Regions from separate parts of the Homo sapiens genome. Here regions 1 and 3 are each linked to region 2. Evidence: promoter capture Hi-C in human tissues and cell types (Jung and others, 2019). All regions are on one chromosome and are shown on one strand. Each heading gives the region's core, a stretch centred on a gene start or on the middle of the fragment in contact. The rest is flanking DNA. Distances are from core to core; before and after follow the strand shown.

The links. The method cuts DNA at HindIII sites, captures the fragments that hold promoters and counts their contacts. A contact is called where the count stands out against the background at its distance.
Region 1: a contact is called between a fragment that was not itself captured here and the fragment with the promoter of THAP11 in region 2, in 1 of the 25 tissues and cell types used here (aorta).
Region 3: a contact is called between a fragment that was not itself captured here and the fragment with the promoter of THAP11 in region 2, in 1 of the 25 tissues and cell types used here (psoas muscle).

Annotation. Positions count from the first base shown.
Region 1 is chr16:67,319,357-67,323,477 of GRCh38, forward strand. KCTD19 (potassium channel tetramerization domain containing 19) reads right to left here. Exons shown (of 16, transcript NM_001100915.3): 2 at 1,233-1,529. It also overlaps the pseudogene RN7SKP118. Among named protein-coding and RNA genes, the nearest start is that of KCTD19, 5.3 kb to the right of the region's middle. The HindIII fragment of the contact is 4,411 bases long and covers 1-4,121 here.
Region 2 is chr16:67,840,623-67,844,912 of GRCh38, forward strand. It overlaps THAP11 (THAP domain containing 11), which reads left to right and starts at 1,698. Exons shown (of 1, transcript NM_020457.3): 1 at 1,698-3,573. The coding sequence starts at 1,933. The coding sequence ends at 2,877. All of the region lies in intron 1 of CENPT (centromere protein T), which reads right to left. RefSeq lists enhancers at 1,412-1,461, 1,914-2,660, 2,372-2,531, 2,972-3,021 and a silencer at 1,712-1,891. The HindIII fragment of the contact is 20,232 bases long and covers 1-4,290 here.
Region 3 is chr16:67,231,413-67,235,772 of GRCh38, forward strand. FHOD1 (formin homology 2 domain containing 1) reads right to left here. Exons shown (of 22, transcript NM_013241.3): 12 at 2,945-3,060; 13 at 2,245-2,855; 14 at 627-782; 15 at 225-407; 16 at 18-137. Among named protein-coding and RNA genes, the nearest start is that of TMEM208, 6.5 kb to the left of the region's middle. RefSeq lists enhancers at 1-445, 446-945. The HindIII fragment of the contact is 6,373 bases long and covers 1-4,360 here.

The DNA.
Region 1 (4,121 bases), core at 920-3,419, 520 kb before region 2:
ACGCATGATCTATCTCAATTTTCTTCTAAAAAGTGTTGAGGCACAGTTGGTGGTACACTGAGCTACACTGCAGCTTGTTGGGTTAGTGCTGATAGAGACGGAATAAACACCTTGTACAGATGGTAGGATTAATACGGAGGATGTTCAATGGTCCTTCCCAGTTGTAATATTTAGTTCTTCCAGGTTAAAAAGAATTGTTCAAAAACTACTGAATAAACTACTTAAGATCAGCCACAAAAATGATTTCTGTGGCTTGGAGAAAAATTAGGAAAGAAAGGTAATGTTTTTAGCAGTACTTTAATGGTTTATAAGTAAAGGTATTTAAAGCTCTTATAATAATAATAATAATAATAATAATAAAGTTTCTTGGAAGACAAAGAAGTGATGGTAAAGGAAAGATTCTGCAGAACTTGTTTTTTTTTTTCTCTCTCTTGACATTTGGCCCAAGATTAGAACTTTTTGCTTTGGTGTAAATGCATGTTGTGTACCTAACAGACACAATGAGAGGTGATATTCTTGATAAATCTTTTAGATTTTAAATCTCAGACATGATGTACATAGCAAATCCTAAAATATCTAAAGTGTTCTCCTTTTAAGATTCAAAAAACAAAAAACAAGAAGTAGCTTAATATAGGATTTTCAAGAGCCAGGGGCACCCTCTCAGTGGATAGTAAATCCCATTCTGGGTCCATGGTGGCTGCTAGTCTAACTAAAGCACAGTTGGGATGAAATCATTTATTAAGAACATATAGGCGGGGTGTAGTGGCTCATGCCGGTAATCCCAGCTCTTAGGGAGGCTGAGGGAGCACTTAGGGAGGCCAATTAGAGAGGACGACTTGAGCCCAGGAGTTCAAGACCAATCTGGTCAACATGGAAAGGATTGGCCGGGCATGGTGGCATGCACCTGTGTTCCCAGCTACTCAGAGGGACTGAGGTGGGAGGTGGGAAGATCCTTTGGGCTTGGGAGGTGGAGGTTGCAGTGAGCTGTGATTGCAGCAGACACCCTGTCTCGAAAAAACAAAAGCAGGTAATTTCAGTGTATTGTTTATTACTTTTTTTTCCTTTTTACTCACCCCTATACTAATGAGGAAATTATTTATTACTTTAACACACTTATTACATTTGCCCATTAAGAGGGTCATCTCAGCAACCAATATATAACAGGAAACAATATTTAGTGATGTAAAGCCATGTTACTGATCCACCACTCCCAGAAAACAAGAGCATCTTACCTGCAGCAAAGGCATCAGCTGCAAACCCAATGCTTGCTCATACAGCAAGTTCAGTTCTGCACAACTGGAGAAGGAGAGTTTGGAGGTGTAGAGGTAATAGTGCACGTGCCTAAATGTGGAACCATCTCTGTCGATAAATAGCCTCTGGCTTTCTGAAGAGGTCAAGGCTGAAGCCTCTTTCCACAGCAGGGAGTCTGGAAACTGAGAGAGTTTGCTTCTGGGAACTGAGAAATGCCAGCCCCCTACGTTGAAATGAAACAAGTCCTCTGCTGATTCATGAGCCATGCCAGACTCCTCCTAAAGGGGGAATGAAAAAGAGATCTACGCAAGAAAAAGAAATAAAAAGGCATCCAGATTGAAAAGGTAGAAATAAACTATCTCTGTTTGCTGATGACATGATCTTGTATATAAAAAATCCTAAGGAATTCACCAGAAAACTATTAGAAATAAGTCCAGGCCAGGCATGGTGGTTCACACCTGTAATCCAAGCACTTTGGGAGCCTGAGGTGGGAAGGTGGCTTGAGACCAGGAGTTTGAGGTTGCAGTGAGCTATGATTGTGCCACTGTACTCTGGCCTAACAGAGCAAGATCCTGTCTCAAAAAAGAAAAACAAACAAAAAAATGAGCCCAACAAGGTTGAAAGATGCAGAGCAATATTTAAAAATGTTGTATTTTTATACTTCAGCAATGAACAATCTGAAAGTGAAATTAAGAAAACAATTCAATTCCATTTACAATAGCATCAAAAATAACATACTTAGGAATAAATTTAACAAAAGAATGAAATACATGTGCACTGGAAACTTCAAAACATTGTTGAAAATTTAAAAGACCTAAATAAATGAAAAAATATCTCATGCTCATGGATTGGAAGATTTAATATCGTTAAGATGGCAATAGTCTCCCAATTGATTTACAAATTCAACACAATCTCTGTGAAAATCCTGACTTTTTGCAAAAATTGAAAAACTGATGCTAAAATTCATATGAAAATACAAGGGATCCAGAATAGCTAAAACAGTCTTGAAAAAAGGAGAACGTTTAAGAAGTCACATTTCCCACTTTTTTTTTTTAAAGGCAGACTGCCACATGCAGCGCCTCATTAGGATGTGTCTGAAGTCTTGGAAGCTTGACTACCCTACGTTCTCCTACAACGGATCTTAAGAACTTGTTTGGAGGTTCTAGCTAGGAAGAGCAGATACTTGTATACCCTTGACTGAAGACTGGTCCTCCTTTATTGGGGATGGTCGTCCTCTTTGACTGAGCACGCAGCTTCAGGAGGGACGCACGTGGAGCGTTGAGGGAAGAAGGGGACACCCGCCTAGACAGCCAGATCAGCCAAATCAACCCTGGCAATCAATGGAGTGACAGATGTCACAGCCAGATCACCCTCACATCCCACACTTTTAAAACTTATTTCAAAGCTAGATCAAGACAGTGTGCTACCAGCATAAGGATAAATATAAAGATAAGTGGAATAGAATTGAGAGTACAGAATAAAACCCCTACACTTATGATCAATTGAATTTTGATAAGCAATCCAAGATGATTCAATGGACAAAGAATAGTCCTTATTAAAAATGGTGCTGGGACAACTGCCCATCCATATGCATAAAAGATAATAATAACAATAATAATAAAGTTGGACCCCTACCTCAACCCATACACAAAAATTAGCTGCAAGTGAAACAGACCTAAAACTATAAAATCTTTTTTTTTTTTTTTTTGAGACGGAGTCTCGCTGTATCACCCAGCCTGGAGTGTAGTGGTAACAATCTCGGCTCACTGCAAACTCCACCTCCCGGGTTCACTCCATTCTCCTGCCTCAGCCTCCTGAGTAGCTGGGACTACAGGCACCCGCCACCACGCCCGGCTAATTTTTTGTATTTTTAGTAGAGATGGGGTTTTACTGTGTTAGCCAGCATGGTCTCGATCTCCTGACCTCGTGATCCACCTGCTTTGGCCTCCCAAAGTGCTGGGATTACAGGCGTGAGCCACTGCACCCAGCCTAAAACCATAAAATCTTTAGAAGAAAATAGAAAATCTTCATGACTTTGGAGTAGGCAAAACTTTCTTAGATGTGACACTAAAAGCAAAAGTGACCAAAAAAATAGATAAATGGAACTTAATCAAAATTTAAAAACATTTGTGCTTTAGAGGGCACCATCAAGAAGGTGAAAAGATAACTCACAGAATGGAACAAAATATTTGCAAATCATTTGTCTGATAAAGAACTTGTTTTTAGAATATATAAAGAACTCTTAAACTCAATAACAAAAAGACAACCAAATTTAAAAATTGGCAAAGCATCTAAATAGACATCTCTCCAAAGAATATATACAAATGACCAACAGAACGAAAAAAGATGCTCAACATCCTTAGTCATCAGAGAAATGCAAATCAAAACCCACAACAGAATACTACTTCACACCCATTAGTATGGCTACAATGAAAACAATAGGTAATAACAAGTGTCGACAAAGAAACCAGAACCCCCATGCACTGCTGGTGGAGGTGTAAAATGGTGCAGGCACTTTGGAAAACAGTTTGGTGGGTCCTGAAAATGTAAAGCATGGAGTTATTCTACTATGAGCCAGCAATTCCACTCCTAGGTGTACACTTAAGACAAATAAAGACATATGTCCACACCAAAATTTCTAGACTAATGTTCATAGAACATAATAGCCAAAAGGTTGGAATAAACCTAATGTCCATCAACTGACAGATGAGTAAACAAAATGTAGTATATCCACACAATGGAATATTGTTTGTCAATACGAAGGAATGGGATGAACATGGTGGCTTGTGCTTGTAATCCCAGCACTTTGGAAGGCTGAGGCAGGAGATTCACTTGAGCCCAGGAGTTTGAGGCTGCAGTGAGCTGTGATC
Region 2 (4,290 bases), core at 448-2,947:
TAACTATTGGGTACTGGGCTTAATACCTGGGTGATGAAATAATCTGTACAACAAATCGCGGTGACACGAGTTCACCTATGTAGTAAACCTTCACACGTACCCCCGAACCTAAAGTAAAAGTTTAAAAAAAATTGGGAGAAGGAAGAACTCGGCAAAGGAGGGCTAGTTTGCAGGTAATTCACCTGGAGAACTGCCTGGCCCCTCCCTGGCTTTCCACAACATTTTGTGTTCTTTAAAACATTTTCCCCCAGCCAGGCGCCGTGATCCTAGCTCACGCCTGTAATCCTAGCACTTTGGGAGGCCGAGGCGAGCAGATTGCCTGAGCTCACGAGTTCGAGACCAGCCTGAGAAACATGGCGAAACCCCGTCTCTACTAAATACAAAATACATATATATATATATATATATATATATATATATATATTAGCCGGGCATGGTGGCATGCGCCTGTAGTCCCAGCTACTCCGGAGGCTGAGGCAGGAGAATTGCTTGAACCCAGGAGGCGGAGGTTGCGGTGAGCCGAGATCTCACCATTGCACTCCAGTCTGGCGACACAGTGAGACTCCTTTACAAAAAAAAAAAAAAAAAAAAAAAAAAAAGATTCCCTCAAATAAGTTGAGGTGGGGGGAGGTGTATTGTTACAATGCAAATCCTTTCCCATAAAATCCTTTAATAGCTCTCAGTGGCCTGCAGAATAAAACCCCAAATCCTTAACATGTCCCAGTTTGGTATTTTCCTACGCTTGGCCCTACCCGGGCCACCCCTTTCCAGGCTCTTTAATGGCGGAGCCTAGCTCTTTTCTGCCATGTGGCCTTACAGACTGGTTCCTGGGACAAGAATTGGCTACTTCTCCCTACCCAAGCTTTCGTTCGTTTTTTTATTCCTGGCCCCCACCACCTCCCCCCCATTTCTCTGCTCTCCTGTTAATTCCTTTGGAGCGATTACTATTTGTGAGTAGACATCCATTCGCGTGCATTCAGATCTATTATCCAAAAGACAGACGCTTATCCGTCTAGGTAGTCAGGCTCCAAGAGAGGAGCCCAGTCGGTCTGACTCCCGCAAACTCCCGGCACCGTGTCAGCCACATAGTAGGCGTCTACTGGAGACTTTGTTTAGATCAGTTAGTCAACGCAGGCAGCAGCTGAATCAGGAGAGAGTCCCCAACGCAAAGAAAGGGGCTCCTGAGACCCTTCGGGGCGCCGAGGCCCAGGTTTCGTCTCCCTCTGCTGCAGCAATGCCGTCGACTCAAAGGGGCTCGGGGCTGGGGAACTGGTTCTGGCAAACAGCACAACCTCGCCCGAATCCTGGTCCGCAGTAACTCGATCTTTCCCTTAGGCGGCGCTTCGGAGGGAAGGCGCCTAGTTCAGCGCGAGGCATCACGGGATTTGTAGTCTCCGTGGGCATATACCCACCGCGCTTGCGCACCGGTGAGGCGCGCACCGCCCCGCTCCACGCCCCTATCAGGATTCGGGTCCTCGTGAGGAGCAGTCCAGGCGACAGCGTTCCAACCTAATACGCCTCTCTCGCCCGCCGGGGACAAGACGGGCTGGGGAAAGAATCTGCTCTTCGGAGGCTATCGCAGTGCCTTGGAAGGCGGCAGGAATCCGCACACACCCGCCCCGGAAGTGAGCCGCTTCTGGCGCGGGGCATTGTGGGGGGCGTAGTCTCTTTCTCAGGCGGTCCTTCGCGGCGTCCCCGGGGCCCACTCCCGAGCGCAGGCGGGCAGCCAGGCGGGCGGCGCGGCGCGGGCCGGCAGGAAGCGTATTCTGGGCACGGGGCGCCGGGCGGGCCGGCTGCGCCGAGCGGCAGTGGTGGGATACCACCCAAGGCCTCGCGCGGCGCCGCCCGTCGAGGGGCGGGCGGCGGCGTAGCCACTGGGCCGTCGAAGAGCGCAGGAGGCCGGTGGGCCGGGCCGGGCCGCGCGGCGCAGCCATGCCTGGCTTTACGTGCTGCGTGCCAGGCTGCTACAACAACTCGCACCGGGACAAGGCGCTGCACTTCTACACGTTTCCAAAGGACGCTGAGTTGCGGCGCCTCTGGCTCAAGAACGTGTCGCGTGCCGGCGTCAGTGGGTGCTTCTCCACCTTCCAGCCCACCACAGGCCACCGTCTCTGCAGCGTTCACTTCCAGGGCGGCCGCAAGACCTACACGGTACGCGTCCCCACCATCTTCCCGCTGCGCGGCGTCAATGAGCGCAAAGTAGCGCGCAGACCCGCTGGGGCCGCGGCCGCCCGCCGCAGGCAGCAGCAGCAACAGCAGCAGCAGCAGCAACAGCAGCAACAGCAGCAGCAGCAGCAACAGCAGCAGCAGCAGCAGCAGCAGCAGCAGTCCTCACCCTCTGCCTCCACTGCCCAGACTGCCCAGCTGCAGCCGAACCTGGTATCTGCTTCCGCGGCCGTGCTTCTCACCCTTCAGGCCACTGTAGACAGCAGTCAGGCTCCGGGATCCGTACAGCCGGCGCCCATCACTCCCACTGGAGAAGACGTGAAGCCCATCGATCTCACAGTGCAAGTGGAGTTTGCAGCCGCAGAGGGCGCAGCCGCTGCGGCCGCCGCGTCGGAGTTACAGGCTGCTACCGCAGGGCTGGAGGCTGCCGAGTGCCCTATGGGCCCCCAGTTGGTGGTGGTAGGGGAAGAGGGCTTCCCTGATACTGGCTCCGACCATTCGTACTCCTTGTCGTCAGGCACCACGGAGGAGGAGCTCCTGCGCAAGCTGAATGAGCAGCGGGACATCCTGGCTCTGATGGAAGTGAAGATGAAAGAGATGAAAGGCAGCATTCGCCACCTGCGTCTCACTGAGGCCAAGCTGCGCGAAGAACTGCGTGAGAAGGATCGGCTGCTTGCCATGGCTGTCATCCGCAAGAAGCACGGAATGTGAACTGGTGCCCCGGCAGCCTGCTGGACTCCCAGACCCCATCCAGCCAGGGGACCGCAGGCCATTGTTGAACTCCTCTATACTCCTGGGCACTGGTTGACAGTACTGAGGCTTAAGGCAGCTGGACTCTCTTGCTGGTGACCTGGCATCCTCAATTGTTTCCTCCTGAAGTGGAAGCTGGGGCCTTAGACTCTGCCCTGGTGACACCAGCAATTATGACTTTGTCTACCCTTCCTCCCCAGTTATTGTTGCAGATTCTGGTTAAGCAGAGGCTTCAGAACCACTGAACTTGAAACTTACCCTCTAGGGATGCAGGTGGGATGTCCAGGGACTATAGGTTTGGGAAAACCATACCTTAAGGTTGGTCAGCAGTCAGACAACTCTAATGTGTGTAGTGATAAGAGATTCAAGTAACATCAGTTCTCCTCCTTTTCATGCTTTTCCTTCCCAGGTGCAGCCTGTGATTCTGATGGGGACTGGTAAATCTGTGCCTCTGCCTCCTAGGACTTATTTTCCCAGGAGGCCATTTACAAGGGGATCTGGATGACCTGCTGATGGAGATCCAGCTTGCCAGGGACTTAGGTTTATCCTGTTTTGTTTGCTACTGGTTACAAATTCTATTTTCTGTACAATTAGTCAGACTAAAGTTTTCACTGTGTTTGTTTGGCAAAACAAATTAAACAAAAAGTAAGGTTTTTATTTGGGTCTCGCCATTTTATTTTTACAAAAACATAGTTAAATGTCCTTGAAACATGGGGAAATAGGCCTCAGCCTTTCTGAAAGACCAGGCTGACCCTGAAAGTAGAGATGCTTCAATGACCAGTTTTTCCAAAAATGGGCCCTAAGCACATGGATCCTGGCCTTATAAGGTCCTCACAGAGTTCCTGGCCCAGCTCACCCTAAAGAGTTTGGAAACTGCACCAAATGGGCCCAGTTTGTCCATGGATTATCTCCCTGTATCCTTTCAACAAGAAGGACCAACTGGTAACTAAGCTATATTGTGATAGTTCGCCTCTGAGGGTTTCAATTCTCAGCTGGGATTGAATTTTGCTCACCATGACATCCCTTAGGCTTAGCACAGCCTCTGGTATGCATGTGCATGCAGTTACTCTGTGAACCGGTAAGAGCGCAGCTGGAGCTAGCCAGGGCTGCTTCAGGCACAAGGACTGTTGTATAGATACCTTGGCCTTGGTACACCTTCGGTGTGACAGAGCTGTATCCACAGAGAGCATTAAGAAGTTGGGAGGTGTGATTCCTTGACTCATTTTCTTGGCTGCCTGCCTCTATTTTTTTTTTTTTATTTTTTTTTAAGATGGAGCTTTGCTCTTGTCACCCAGGCTGGAGTGCAATGGTGTGATCTCAGCTCACTGCAACCTCTGCCTCCCAGGTTCAAGCAATTCTTCTGCCTCACCCTCC
Region 3 (4,360 bases), core at 1,635-4,134, 610 kb before region 2:
CATGTACTCTCACTCACCTGGGAGCCATTGAGGAAGTTGCCCACCGCTAGGAGGGTAGCCAGGATGCAGCGGAAGGTGGCATTCTGTACCAGCTGTTCCATACCCACTTTCAGGTCAAACAGTGGCTCAGCAATTTCCTGGTATGGGAGACCAGGGACTCTCAGACTACATGGTCATGATGCTTACCTGTCCCTACTGACTGTCCCACTCCAAGACCCAGGTACCCGCTCCATGCTGTCATAGTCCAGCTTGAAGGCCCAGAGTTGTAGACGAGCAGCGAGGCCGCCAATGGAGGCAAGAGTCATCAGGAAGTTCTCGGCTGGGCCCAGGGGTATGTCAGGGTTGGCCAGCTGGGCTTCCTCAATCTTCTGCCGCTCTTCCTCCGTGGGCATCATGGTCAGTAGCTTCTGAGGATGTAGCCAGAGCCTGACATGGCCCCCTCAATGCAGGCCTGAGGCCTGAGGCATTGGTCTTGACCCCTCAGTCATCTAGGGGAGGCCCCAGTGTCTGGGGACTGCCCTGCAGAAATGCCAAGCCCATGCCCACCACCAGAGGGACAGGAAATGCCCACCTACCAAAGGAGAAGGCCAGACCTCCCCCCAACACCCATAGCTGGGTGACCTCACCTCAATGCCATCCTTGCTGACAGCAAACTCATCAAAGTTGAGCAGAGCAGCCTTAATGACATGCACAGGTGGCAGTGTGGTTAGGCCGATGTTGATGGCGTTGCTGCGCTTGGGGTCCAGCACTGTGGTCATTGTCCGGCGGCCCTCTCCAGCTTTCTGCATGGTTGGGGGAAGGGCAGTGTAAGACTGAGGAAGGGGGCCTGACGCGGTGGCTCACGCCTGTAATCCCAGCACTTTGGGAGGCCAAGGCGGGTGGACCACGAGGTCAGGAGATCGAGACCATCCTGGCTAACATGGTGAAACCCCATCTCTACTAAAAATACAAAAAAAATTAGCTGGGCGTGGTGGCGGGCACCTGTAGTCCCAGCTACTCGGGAGGCTGAGGCAGGAGAATGGCGTGAACCCGGGAGGCGGAGCTTGCAGTGAGCTGAGATCACACCATTGCACTACATCCTGGGTGACTGAGCAAGACTCTGTCTCAAAAAAAAAAAAAAAAAAAAAAAGACTGAGGAAGGGACTAGCTGGGACAGCAACCTCAGAGGGCACTCCAAGGCCCTCCTCTAGATTGCCAAATGATCCCACAACTGACAAACTGGCAACCTGGAATGTGTAAGTCATGGGGATGAGCTTAGATTCTTTTGAGACAGGGCCTGGCTCTACCATCTAGGCTGGAGTGCAGTGGTGCCATCATCGCCCACTGCAGCTTATCTTCTGGGATTTTCCTGCCTCAGCCTCCCAAGTAGCTGGGATTACAGGCGTGTACCACCATACCCAACTATTTTTTTTTTTAACATTTTTTTTTCCGCCTCCCAGGTTCAAGCAATTCTTTTGCCTCAGCCTCCCAAGTAGCTGGTATTGCAGGCATGAGCCACCACGCCCAGCTCATTTTCATATTTTTAGTAGAGACGGGGTTTCACCATGTTGGCCAGGCTGGTCTCAAACTCCTGGCCTCAAGTAATCTGCCTGCCTTGGCCTCCCAAAGTGCTGGGATTACAGGGGTGAGCCACCATGCCCGGCTAATTTTTTTTTTAACATTTATTTATTTTTATTTATTTAGTTATTTTTGAGACGAAGTCTTGCTCTTGTCCCCCAGGCTGGAGTGCAATGGTGCGATCTCGACTCACTGCAACCTCTACCTCCCGGGTTCAAGTGATTCTCCTGCCTCAGCCTCCCGAGTAGCTGGGATTACAGGTGCCCGCCACCACGCTTGGCTAATTTTGTGTTTTTAGTAGAGACGGGGTTTTGCTAATTTGACCAGGCTGGTCTCGAACTCCTGACCTCAAATGATCCACCTGCCTCGGCCTCCCAAGGTCCTGGGATTACAGGCATGAGCCACTACACCCAGACCAACTTTTAGTAGAGATAATGTCTCACTATGTTGCACAGGCTGGTCTCAAACTCTTGGATTACAGGTGTGAGCCACCATGCCCGGCCACATTTAGATTCTAGTTGGGGCACTGCTGATCCCTTGTTAGGAGACCTTGGACAATTTCCTACTCCTTTCTTTGCCTTGGTTTCCCCATGTGGGAAGTGAGTGACTAGCTCCAACAGGTCAGATCCTTAAGCTCTGATTCCCTCCTGCCTCCCTTGGGGCTACCTTGCAGATGAGTGGATTTACCTTGGAGGGCAGCACCTCTTTGGCACGAGACTCAAAGAGGTGTTCCAGTCGGGCCGTGTCCACTGAGACAGGGTCCAGTGAAGCCCAGAGGGTGGCGCAGGGCCCAAAGCGGCTTGCAGAGACTCCATGGCCCCCAGCCAGCTTCAGCTCACGCCAGAAAAGTTTTACTGTCTTCCTCTTAGTGGGGAGGGCTGAGCTGTCAGGCACTGAATGGGGAAGAGGGGCAGCCAGAGGTAGAGGTGGAGGTGGTGGGAAGGGGCCTTTGATGGGTGGGGGAGGTGGAAGTGGGGGAGGGGGGGGTACTCCCGAGAGCAGGGGCAGTGGGGGTGAGGGAGCTGGGATGTCTTTCCCAGCCTCCACAGACTCTACATTCAGCATGTCCTGGTCTTCATCCTCCCCTAGATCTGAAAAGTCCAGGTCCCCAATAGAGAGCCTGGGTGCACGGGTAGGGAGCTCCCAGATGGGCTCAGCCTTGGGGCTTGCTGGTATCAGTGGCTCCTTGGGCTCTGGTGCAAGGCTTCGCTGGGCCCGGAGCAGGACACAGGGGGCAGGGCTCTGGGGTGTTCTGGCTGCAGGGGCTGTCTCTGGGGAGTCCCAGAGTTGCCGGGCATCTAAAGAAAGGGAAGGAGCTGTCAGTGCCATGCCCCCTGTGGGGCAACAAAGCAACAGGCAGGCTCTGCCTGCTCACCCACCTACTCACCTGGGTGTCCACCCGCCTCATTGGGCATGGCCCCGGCAAGTGTCTCTGCCCGGCCCTGGGCCAGCGCAACCTGCTTCTCTGTTTCTGCTGCCGCCACATTCTCCAGGAACCGGGCTCTGAGGGAAGGTGCTTGTCACTGACAGCGTCTGACACACCCCAGCCCAGGTGTACATGCCTTGCTGAGCCCCTGGACACCACCCCCAATTGCAGGCACGCACAGACACACAGGGAACAGTCCATGCGCTGAGCAGACCAGAACCACACCCCCCCCAAGGCCAGCCCCTCTTCAGTCCTCCACATCTGGGGAGGATTACTACCAACCCAGCATTCCCAGGTGAAAACACAGGGAGAGGATCTACTTAACATCTAACTTGCAACCTCGTTCATGTTCACTGTCCTGGTTTTTTTTTGGTTGGTTTTTTTTTTAGAGACAGGGTCTCACTCTGTCAGTCACCCAGGCTGGAGTACAGTGGTGTGATCATAGCTCACTGCAGCCTCACTCTCCTGGGCTTGACCCTCAGCCTCCCAAGTAGCTGGGACTACAGACATGTGCCACCACGTCCAGCTGATTTTTTAATTTTTTTGAGGAGACAGGGTCTCACTGTGTTGTTCAGGCTGGCCTTGAATTCCTGGCCTCAAGCAGTCCTCCCACCTCAGCCTCCTGAAGTGCTGAGATTACAGGTGTGAATGATGCACCCAGCCAAATTTTAAAAAATTTCTTTGTAGAGATGAGGTCTTACTGTGTTGCCCAGGCTGGTGTCTTGAGTCTAGACAAGGACTCTTAGAGCAGGGGAAGGGGATAGCTGTCCCAATGGGCATATCAGGCTGTCCCTCCCTTGGCATGTCTGGTAGCTTCTGGGAGCCTATGCCCAGGAAAGGGCCTGGTAAACAGGCCAGGTGCGGTGGCTCACGCTTGTAATCCCAGCACTTTGGGAGGCAGAGGTGGGTGGATTACTTGAAGTCAGGAGTTCGAGACCAGCCTGGCCAACATGGTGAAACCCTGTCTCTACTAAAAATACAAAAATTACCCAGGTATCCTGGTGCAGGCCTATAATCCCAGCTACTTGGGAGGCTGAGGCAGGAGAATTGCTTGAACCTGGGAGGCAGAGGTTGCAGTGTGCTGAGATCACACCACTGCACTCCAGCCTTGGAGACCGAGCAAGACTCTGTCTCAAAAAAAAAAAAAACAAAAAAAAAACGGATGTGGTAAACAGTGGACCCTCAGTTTATGCTGAAATAATGGGTGCAATCCAGTGTTTCTTTTCTGGCCCCTCCAGCCTCTGTCAGCTCTCAGTCCCTGCCTTTCCCTCAGCCTTAGGTTACCCCTCCACCCCCACACCACACACCACACAGCACCCTAGGTCCCCTCCCTGCTCGCTTCTGAGCTGAAGACTTGGCAGAATGAGCCCCAGGTTG